Linked DNA regions of Homo sapiens: region 1 is linked to region 2. Evidence: promoter capture Hi-C in human tissues and cell types (Jung and others, 2019). All regions are on one chromosome and are shown on one strand. Each heading gives the region's core, a stretch centred on a gene start or on the middle of the fragment in contact. The rest is flanking DNA. Distances are from core to core; before and after follow the strand shown. Region 1 has its middle 40 kb from the start of SLC34A2. Region 2 holds the start of SLC34A2 (solute carrier family 34 member 2).

Region 1 (4,881 bases), core at 395-2,894, 39 kb after region 2:
GACCAACCCTTCCAGGGCTGGGCATGGTGTCTCATGCCTGTAACTCCAGCACTGTGGGAGGCTGAGGCAGGAGGATTGCTTGACCCCAGGAGTTTGAGACCAAACTGGACAACATAGCAAGACTCCAATCTCTACAAAAAATTAAAAATTAATTGGGTGTAGTGGCTCATGTCTGTAATCTCAACTACTTGGGAGGCTGAGGTGGAAGAGTTGCTTGAACACAGGAGTTCGAGACCAGTCTAGGCAACATAGTGAGACCCTTTCTCTATAAAAAATTTAAAAATAACTAGAATTAATGAAAAGAGTGTTGGATTAAAAACAGTGACAAAATAGATAACATTTTACTTGTATAGGAAAGAAAAAAAAGTGAAAAATCTCAAATGCCAAATATTAGATATACAAAAATAGCCCACATTTACCAAATATTTCCTCTTTGCCAGGCACTGAACTAAGTACTTGTCTTGCCCTAGCTCACCTCCTAGTTCAGTGTCCTTATGTGGTCCGAGTATTATTATCTCTGTTTTACATTTTCCATTTCAGGAAGCCAGGCACAGAGAAGCTGCAATAACTTGTCTAACCAAGCTCATCATAAGAGTGAGTGGTAAACTGAGATTTTAACCCAGATCCTCTGGATTTAGATCTTGCCATTTTAAATCTATACACTGCAGGGAGTAGTAGCTAAAATTACACATACAGGCCAGGCATGGTGCCTCACGCCTGTAATCCCAGCACTTTGGGAGGCTGAGGCGGGTGGATCACCTGAGGTTAGGAGTTCCAGAGTAGCCTGACCAACATGGTGAAACCTCATCTCTACTAAAAATACAAAATTAGCCAGGCGTGGTGATGTGCACCTGTAATCCCAGCTACTTGGGAGGCTGAGGCCGGAGAATCGCTTGAATCCGGGAAGTGGAGGTTGCAGTGAGCTGAGATAGCACCACTGCACTCCAGGCTGGGCAGTAACAGCATACAGATGGGCCGGGCATGGTAGCTCACGCCTGTAATACCAGCACTTTGGGAGGCTGAGGCGGGCTGATCACTTGAGTCCAGGAGATAGAGACCAGCCTGGGCAACATGGCAAAATCCCATCTCTATAAAAAAAACACAAAAATTAGCCGGGCATGGTGGTGTGCACCTATAGTCCCAGCTACTTGGGAGGCTGAGGCAGGAGAATCTCCTGAGCCCAGGAGGTGGAGGCTGCAGTGAGTCGAAATTAGCCAGGTGTGGTGGTGGGCACGTGTAATCCCAGCTCCTCGGGAGGCTGAGGCAGGAGAATTGTTTGAACCACGGAGGCAGAGGTTGCAGTGAGCTGAGATTGCACCATTGCACTCCAGCCTAGGCAACCAGAGCAAAACTCCGTCTCAAAAAAAAAAAAAAAAAAGGTGGGTTCACTTCATTATGAACTTGTCCAAACCCACAGAATGTACAACACCAAGAGTGAACCTGATGTCAGCTATGCTCTTTGGGTGATAATGATGTGTCAGGTAGGCTCGTGGATTGTAACAAGCATGACTCCCAGGAAGCATGTCAACTCGGAAGCTGGATTTTGCTCAGAAGTCTCCTCTGCTCAGGGGAAACACATCATCTCCTTGTATCTTATCTCAGTAATCAGGGGCATGCTTCTAGGAATCCAAAGAAACATCCCAAGTGATAGTGTGTACTCAGGACAGGAAGTTCCTGTGGTTTGGGGCTGCTGAGGTCAGAGCCTGGAAAGGGAAAGTGTACTAGAGGTTAAAGAACATTTGCTTCCCAGGTCTGCAGAGCAGGTCATTTTCTTATCATTCCCTGTCCTTCCCTCTCTATCTCCCGCCTTCCTACCCTCTCCTGCCCCACCCTCCAACACATCTCTGGGGCCTTTCTGGCCTCCTGTCAGTTTGATCCTACACTGCTTTTCTCTTAGCATGAAGGCAAGACTCATTATCAGTGCTCTCTCCTGTGAAATATAGAAGAAGAATAATCATATTTTCTACAGAAGGGTGTTGGAAGAATTAAATAGAAATGCTTGTGTGGCTGGGAGCGGTGTTCACACCTGTAATCTCAGCACTTTGGGAGGCTGAGGTGGGAGGAATGCTTGAGCTCAGGAGTTCGAGACTAGCCTGGGTAACATAGGAGACACCATCTCTACAAAAAATTAAAAAAAAATCAATCAGGTGTGTGGCTCATAGCTGCAGTCCCAACTACTGGGGAGGCTCAGGTGGGAGGATCACTTGAGCCCATGAGGTCTAAGGCTACAGTGAGCTGTGATCACACCACTGCACTCCAGCCTGGGTGACAGAGCAAAACCCTGCCTTAAAAAAAATAATAAAATAAAATAGATAAATAAATAAAGGCCGGGCACAGTGGCCCACGCCTGTAATCCCAGCACTTTGGGAGGCCAAGGCGGGCAGATCACCTGAGGTCAGAAGTTCAAGACCAGCCTGGCAACATGGCAAAACCCTGTCTCCACTAAAAATACAAAAATTAGCCGGTCGTGGTGCCGCGTTCCTGTAGTTTCAGCTACTCAGGGAGGCTGAGGCAGGAGAATCGCTTGAACCTGGGAGGCAGAGGTTGCAGTGAGTTGAGATTGTGCCATGCACTCCAGCCTGGGCGACAGAGCAAGACTCTATCTCAAAAAAAAAAAAAAAAATGCTTGTGAAACTGCTTTGTAAATTGTGCACAGACAAGCCACTGGTCCCTCCCCCTTGCAGTCATTCATTCTTTCTACAGAATCCTAGTAAGTGTGACTGTGTGCCAGCAAGTACTCTAAGCACTAGGAATCCCACAAGGCATGAGATATACTGACAATTAAGCACATTCTAGTGAGGAAGACAGAGAAGTAGACAGTTCCCAGGGCGTAAGTTTTGCTAGGAGACTGGGCAGAAGAAGCCACCCCAACTGCAGATCCTATTTATACCCGCCACTTAATGGTTCTGTATGTTTAGGAAAGTTATTTCACCTTTCTGACCCTTGGGTTTCTATCTCAACAATGTGAACAAGATCTCTATTTCACAAGGTTATTGTGAGGATTAAATGAGATTTCCCTAAATCTCAGGTATTAGCATTCTCCCTTAGAATGCTTGCTCTATCTCCCTGCAGCCTCTACAATTGATTAACATTGCCACCTACTTTTGCTTCATCTTGGGTAATAATATTTGTGAATCATGGAGTTAGTGTTCAAGTCCTCTTGTTTTCCTAATAAACAGTAAAGCAAATGCTTAGCTGTTAGCATTTTAACAGTTCAATAGGGTCCCACCTAGAAATAGCTCATGTGCCCCAAGGTTATAAGTACTGAGATCCATAATTAAAGCATGATCACATTGTATTGCTTGGTGTTGGTAAGGCTTAAATATACACAATTTTATTGATTCTAAGAAGTAAGAATGGAGTAGATGACAGGACCCAATGCATAGAAGGAGGATGAGGGGAGGGAAGAAAGAAAGCCTTCCATCGGGGGTTGGGAGGTGGCTTCGGAGCTTAGCCCTGGAGCCTGCAGATCACCTGGCAGGTAGAAAGGGGTTGAGGACTGAAATGGGTGAAAAGGAAGTGCTTTCTAAGAAAAGAACAAAGATCAACTGGGCTCGGTGGCTCACGCCTGTAATCCCAGCACTTTGGGTGAAGGATGAGCCTGGGGCTATAGATAAGCTGAGGTCAGATAAAGAAAGGCTTGCATGCTCTCTGGGGAGTTTGGACTTGATCCTGATGGATATGGTGAAATTCAGCAGGTGTTTGAGGCCTGAATGTCACGTGTTCCAGTTATAGCCTAAGAAGATCTCAGGAAAATTATTTAGAGTGGGTCAGCACAAGAGGTACACAAGGATGCATGTACCAAGGTTTCGAGCCTGATGCATTTGTAAAAATACCTCTTGTGCTTCTGATTCTCACTTCTTTGTGTTTTCGCTCCTTGTTCTTTAATAGAGTCTTCCAAATAAATCAGTCCGTATGGAGGTATACATTTATTTCAGTAGAAATAAGCACTATGTTTCTGATATAAGCCTCTTATCAGAAAGATAGAGGCTTTCTGATAAGCCAGAGCTCTTTGAGAAATCGGAGGCTGATGAAAGTCAGAAACCTGAGATCTGTCTTCAGTTCCTTCCGCTGCCCACCCTCCTGGGGAAGACCAGGGTTGACAGGCCTATCAACTACACCTCTCTTTTTTTAAATTTTTTTCTATTTTGAGGTGGAGTCTCACTCTGTCACCCAGGCTGGAGTGCAGTGGCGCGATCTCGGCTCACTGCAATCTCCGCCTCCCAGGTTCAAGCGATTCTCCTGCCTCAGCCTCCCAAGTAGCTGAGATTAGAGGTATACACTACCACGCCTGGCTAATTTTTGTGTTTTTATTAGAGATGGGGTTTCACCATGTTGGCCAGGCTGATCTCAAACTTCCAACCTCAAGTGATCCTCCTGCATTGGCCTCCCAAAGTGCTGGGATTACAGATGTGAGCCACCGAACCTGGCCTCAACTGCCCCTTTCATTACCGATCAGTTCTAGTCCTTCCTCACTGCTCACTACCCCTGCAGTTCCTACCTTCATTGTCTCTTATCTCAATGCTTTGTAATGATCTATGAACCAGTCTCAATGCTGGTTTTATCTCAATTCCTCGACTTAATAGCTAAGAATTCTGAGTAGCTAAAGGATCCTAAGCAAATCCTTTAATCTTACTGTCTCAGCTTCCTCGTCTGTCAAATAGAGATAATAAATGAATATATCTGCCTCATGGGTTGTTGTGGGGATTGCCAAGACCAGCTTGGCTGGGGAGACCCAACCCAGCGGCGCCAGAGGAATTAAAGACACACACAGAGAAATATAGAGGTATGAAGTGGGAAATCAGGGGTCTCAAAGCCTTCCAAGCTGAGAGCCCAGAATAGAGATTTACCCACGTATTTATTAGCAAACCAGTCATTAGC
Region 2 (4,600 bases), core at 1,327-3,826:
GTTTGGTGACACTTTTTTGATGAAAGTATTTTTTTTTAATTTAATTTTTTTGAGACAGATTCTTATTCTGTCATCCAGGCTGGATTGCAGTTAGCTCTCACTGCAACTTCCGCCTCCCGGGTTCAAGTGATTCTTGTGACTCAGCCTCCTGAGCAGCTGGGATTTTTTTATATTTTTAGCAGAGACGGGGTTTCGCCATGTTGGTAGACGGGTCTCCAACTCCTGGCTTCAAGTGATCTGCCTGCCTCGGCCTCCCAAACTGTTGGGATTACAGATGTGAGCCACCACACCCAGCCTCGATGAAAGTATTTTAGATGTTTGTATTTATACATAAGGCTCTATGTTTGAAGTACTAAATGGTGAGAGTATTTTGTATCTCAGATGGAATAACGATAGGAAAATGTTCTTCAGCAAATTGTACTCTCCTAAAGGGAGAGATTATAGAGTGATGAACACAGACACGCCATCTACCTTTCCTCCAGACTTTGTAAAAAAAAATTATATAAATTACAATCCCAAACTAGAATCAGATACCATCCCTGATCTACTACCAAGATCTATACACATTAAGAGAACAATGTTCGGGATTGAACCTGTTTTGCCTTTTTAATCGGAACACAAAAGGGATACCTTTTTCTTTCTCCAAGTTTTTGAAATTTTGGTCTCCCTCCTACATTCACTCCTTGTTGAAAGTAATGGAAAGGCAATTAGGTCTGTGTCCCAAATGAAAGCCCACAGTCAGGAGGGGATTCTCATTGAGGTGACTGTCCTGTTAAGACCTGCTCCTGTGAACCCCCAAGCACAGGGCAGAGCAGGACATGAACTAAGAGCCAGGCTTTGCCGAATCCGGGTCGAGTTCACCGACAGCAGTGTGTGCAGCACGCTTCCTCCTCTGCACCCTGGCAGTAGAGCCCTTCCTCATTGTAAAGCCAAGTGGTGTCTGCAGTCCGCCTTGCCCAGGGCTGGAGGCAGAGCTGAGCTTGGTGAACAGGTGCCAGGGGATTCCTGTCATCAGTGGACTATGCTTTAGAAGCTGCTTGTTGCAAAGGTACTGGTTGATCATTGTCTGAGAGTTGGATCTGAAGGCCAACACCCACTAGCAAAACCATCATCCCTGTAATAACAGCAACCCAAGCAGATTTGATTTCTCCAGTGAAGGTTCTAGATGAGTCTAATCAAGGCTTCCCACCCATCTTCTCCCAACACCAGAGTTTCCCTGTGAAAACGATCATGGTTAACTCGCACTGAATACTATTTATGTGCCAAGTACCATTCCACATTCTTTACATATTTTAGCTCACTTTACTCCAACGGGGACCATTATTCCCAGTTTGCACATAAGCAAATGGAGCCAGGGAAAGCAAGGGGCAGAACAGGGAACTGATTTCCCGGAGTTTCGGCCCAGAGTCAGTGTGCTTAGCCACCGCCAACACCAGCCCCAGAGCTCTAGGCTCCTGGAAGTCGTGCTCCCGAGTCCTTCCCCTTGCACAGTGGAGAGAACTCGATGTTGGAATGAAACCAGCTAATTCCAGTAGGGTGCTTCCGCTGTTGTGAGGAGCTGGGCAACTAGTAAGCTCACTGAGCCTCACTGTGCTCCACTATAAAACCAGGAGAGTGCGCAGCAGAGGAGAGGGTCTGGGTTTCAGAATAAGAAGCAGGTTTTCTTCCTGCTCAGCAAATCCTGGGTAATTGTATCATATCCCCTAACCCCTTAAACCTCAGCTAGAGAGGGCGCCAGTCTTAGCCCCAGGGAAGGCTTTCGTGTGCACATTGGAGACAAAGCCTGCCCAGCAGTGCCCGGCACAGAACTGGGGAGCTGTTGGGATAAGCATGGGGGTGGACTCTCCCTGGGACAGATCCTATCTCACAGCAGTTTGGAGAACTGTTGTATACACACGCAGGTGACACGAGGCAGAGCAGGATGTGAAACGAGCGCAGTGGTTTGCCAAACCCGCAGCAGGCTTAGGACGGAGTGGTGAGAACAGCCCCCTTCCTTTTCCTCAGCTTGACGGTCCCAGCCTTTCCCATTGCGGACCTAGAGCCCAGACTCCCAGGGCAGAAAGCGCCCCACAGACTGATAAAGGTGAACAATCCAGGCTTTGTTTCCAAGGGCTTTATCCCTGACTTTCCAACTGGCTTTTATCTGTGTCTTCACGTCTCTGACCTCTTGAGCCTCACAGGAGCTAGACTAGAAGGTTCAAGTTCTTGAGGAGAAGGCAGGGGCGGGAGAGCCCCACTTGCGGGAATCTCGTGCGGACCGAGTCGGGGCGGGAGAGGGCGCGCACCAGCCAGGCTAGGGCGCGCGGGGCGCCGAGGGGCGCGGGGCCGTTTGGGGCCGTTCGGGCCAGTTCGCGCGGCGGGGCCCGTCGGAGCTTTTCTCTCGGCAGCCTGGCTGGCCGCGCGTCTTCTCCGCGCAGCGGGCGAAGTCGCGATGGGTTCATTAAGGCGGCAGGTAGGCAGTGCCCCGGCGGCGGCTGCGGCAGGCGGTCCTGGAATGTGCGAGGGGCGTGATGACAGCGGCCAGCCTCTTTGCGCAACACCTTCGCCATATATACCCGGGGCGCTGCGCTCCACCTGGCCGCCGCCTCCAGCCCAGCACCTGCGGAGGGAGCGCTGGTGAGTACCGCCGCCGGGGCAGGGGCGCTTCCTCGCTCTTTCAAGGACTTTGATTCACTTAATTCTTGCAAATACCTCTCGGTGCTGACTTCAAGGAACTTGGCTGGCTTTGGGCCGCAGAAGTGAAAAACACAAAGCTCTCCACAATGTTCAAGTTGTTTTCTTCTTAATGTTACGGTTATTGCTTTTATTACAGCTTTTGCTGCTACACTCTTACGATCGACAGTGTTATTAATCAGCCACACTTGTGGATTCTAAAATGATCACTGTTTTGAGAGTCGTGGTTTGGAAGAGGAAAGGCCCAGGGGATAGAAATCTCCACCTAGGAATCAGGATAGCTAGGCTCTTTGTGGCTGGGTCACCAACTAGCCATGTGACAACGCTAGTCCCTGTGAGCCCCTGGGCTGCCGTCTTCCATTCTTTATAAGAAGGGGAATGCGACATCTCAGGACCATGAAAATTCTAGGTTTGTGGTGGCTGCCTGGTGATGTGACACTGCCCCCCACCCAAGTGTGACTTCCACGTGGTACAGTGCTTGTTTGCAGTTATTTAAGGTGCCTAGGAGACAGTCTTAGTTTGTTTCTATTAGGGCCCGTGGCCATCAGCGAAGGGTCCGTCCTTCAGCCGTCTTGGGGAGCAAAGCCCGCAATTTATGTTTTCCAAGCCACAAATGGGTGAGCAGGCTGGGGAGATAACTTACAAGGAGATGTGCACAGGAGTGGTTGGGTTCGGGGACTGCGCATCCTCAGGCCAGAAAGTTGGGGGCTGCATGGCATGGAGTTAGTTCAGGTTCCCTGCAACGGTGCCTGCCACCGGTGGCTCGCACTGCGCTGAAGAGAGTTGGAATCTCGTTTTCTTTGAGGAGGTCCCTTTTTCAAACATGTTGATTTCATGGAAGCAGCTTGTGGATTTCATCACTCGAGTCCCCTCTTCCTGTTTGGGTGCCCCAGGGGGTTTCTGTGTTAGCCCTGATCGCTCTGGGCCTTGTCGTTCTTTCCTTTTTCCTTCTTCCCTTGTGTGCTGGCAGTTCTTTAACTTGTCCTGGGTTGGGTATTCTTGGAAAACTGTGCTTGTAGGAGTGGCCGTTGTTTCAGATTGTTAAAGAAAAACAAAAATAAAAAAGATTGCCTCTTTTGTCCCATGCCCGCTGATCATGATCTTCTCTGCTTTTGTAATTTGGGGAATGGGTGATAAGAAAGGCGTGCTTTGTAAAAGGTTTGGATGCTAAACAAATTGCCCCATCCAAAACTCCCCAAATTGCTCAACTGTCTCAATGAAGCAAGTCCCCTGTGGTATGAGGATGGGCTTCTGATTGTTGCTGTTAGACACAAAGGGGACAAAAAAATAGCCCGAATTCAATGCAATGAGGAAAACAGCCTCACAGAATCAGAGTGCTTTGGAATAAACTGGGCTTTAGTAACCAGTTTCAGGCATCTTCCACTCCTCCATCCTCACCCACACCCCCACTTCCATTCTGGGGACCGCAGGGAGCAATCAGGACATCCCAGGGAATTTATTCATCTCAGTGAATTTTTAAAATGCAAAGGTACAAAAAGAGGGCTATAAAAAGATTGCGGTATTTTTAAGATGTTTATATTTACAAATTTAACTGCTTTAACCTCCCCCCCCAATACAATGCAGCACAACTGATATAGTTACAAGTTATTTACAGGATTTATTTTAAGATATCATAAATACAAATTGATAGTGCATGGTGAGGGTGTGGTTTGGTGATATGGCCCAAGTTTAAAGTTTATTAGTGTGCCACATCAAAAATGTAAACTCAAGTTATCTATCAATGTGAGGCCCAGGCCAATTGCTTCCTTGACTCCTCTCATCACTACCACCATTGTGTCCTTGAAGAGATTATTATTAGCAGTAATGTAGGGACAGGGTCTCACTATGTTGTCTAAGCTGGTCTCAAACTCACAGGTTCAAGGGACTCTCCCACTTTGGCCTCCCAAAGTGCTGGGATTATAGGTGT

Evidence for each region. The method cuts DNA at HindIII sites, captures the fragments that hold promoters and counts their contacts. A contact is called where the count stands out against the background at its distance.
Region 1: a fragment that was not itself captured here is called in contact with the fragment with the promoter of SLC34A2 in region 2 in 2 of the 25 tissues and cell types used here (aorta and pancreas).

Annotation. Positions count from the first base shown.
Region 1 is chr4:25,692,982-25,697,862 of GRCh38, forward strand. No RefSeq gene overlaps it. Among named protein-coding and RNA genes, the nearest start is that of SLC34A2, 40 kb to the left of the region's middle. The HindIII fragment of the contact is 9,413 bases long and covers 1-4,881 here.
Region 2 is chr4:25,653,275-25,657,874 of GRCh38, forward strand. It overlaps SLC34A2 (solute carrier family 34 member 2), which reads left to right and starts at 2,577. Exons shown (of 13, transcript NM_006424.3): 1 at 2,577-2,616. RefSeq lists an enhancer at 2,027-2,940. The HindIII fragment of the contact is 21,396 bases long and covers 1-4,600 here.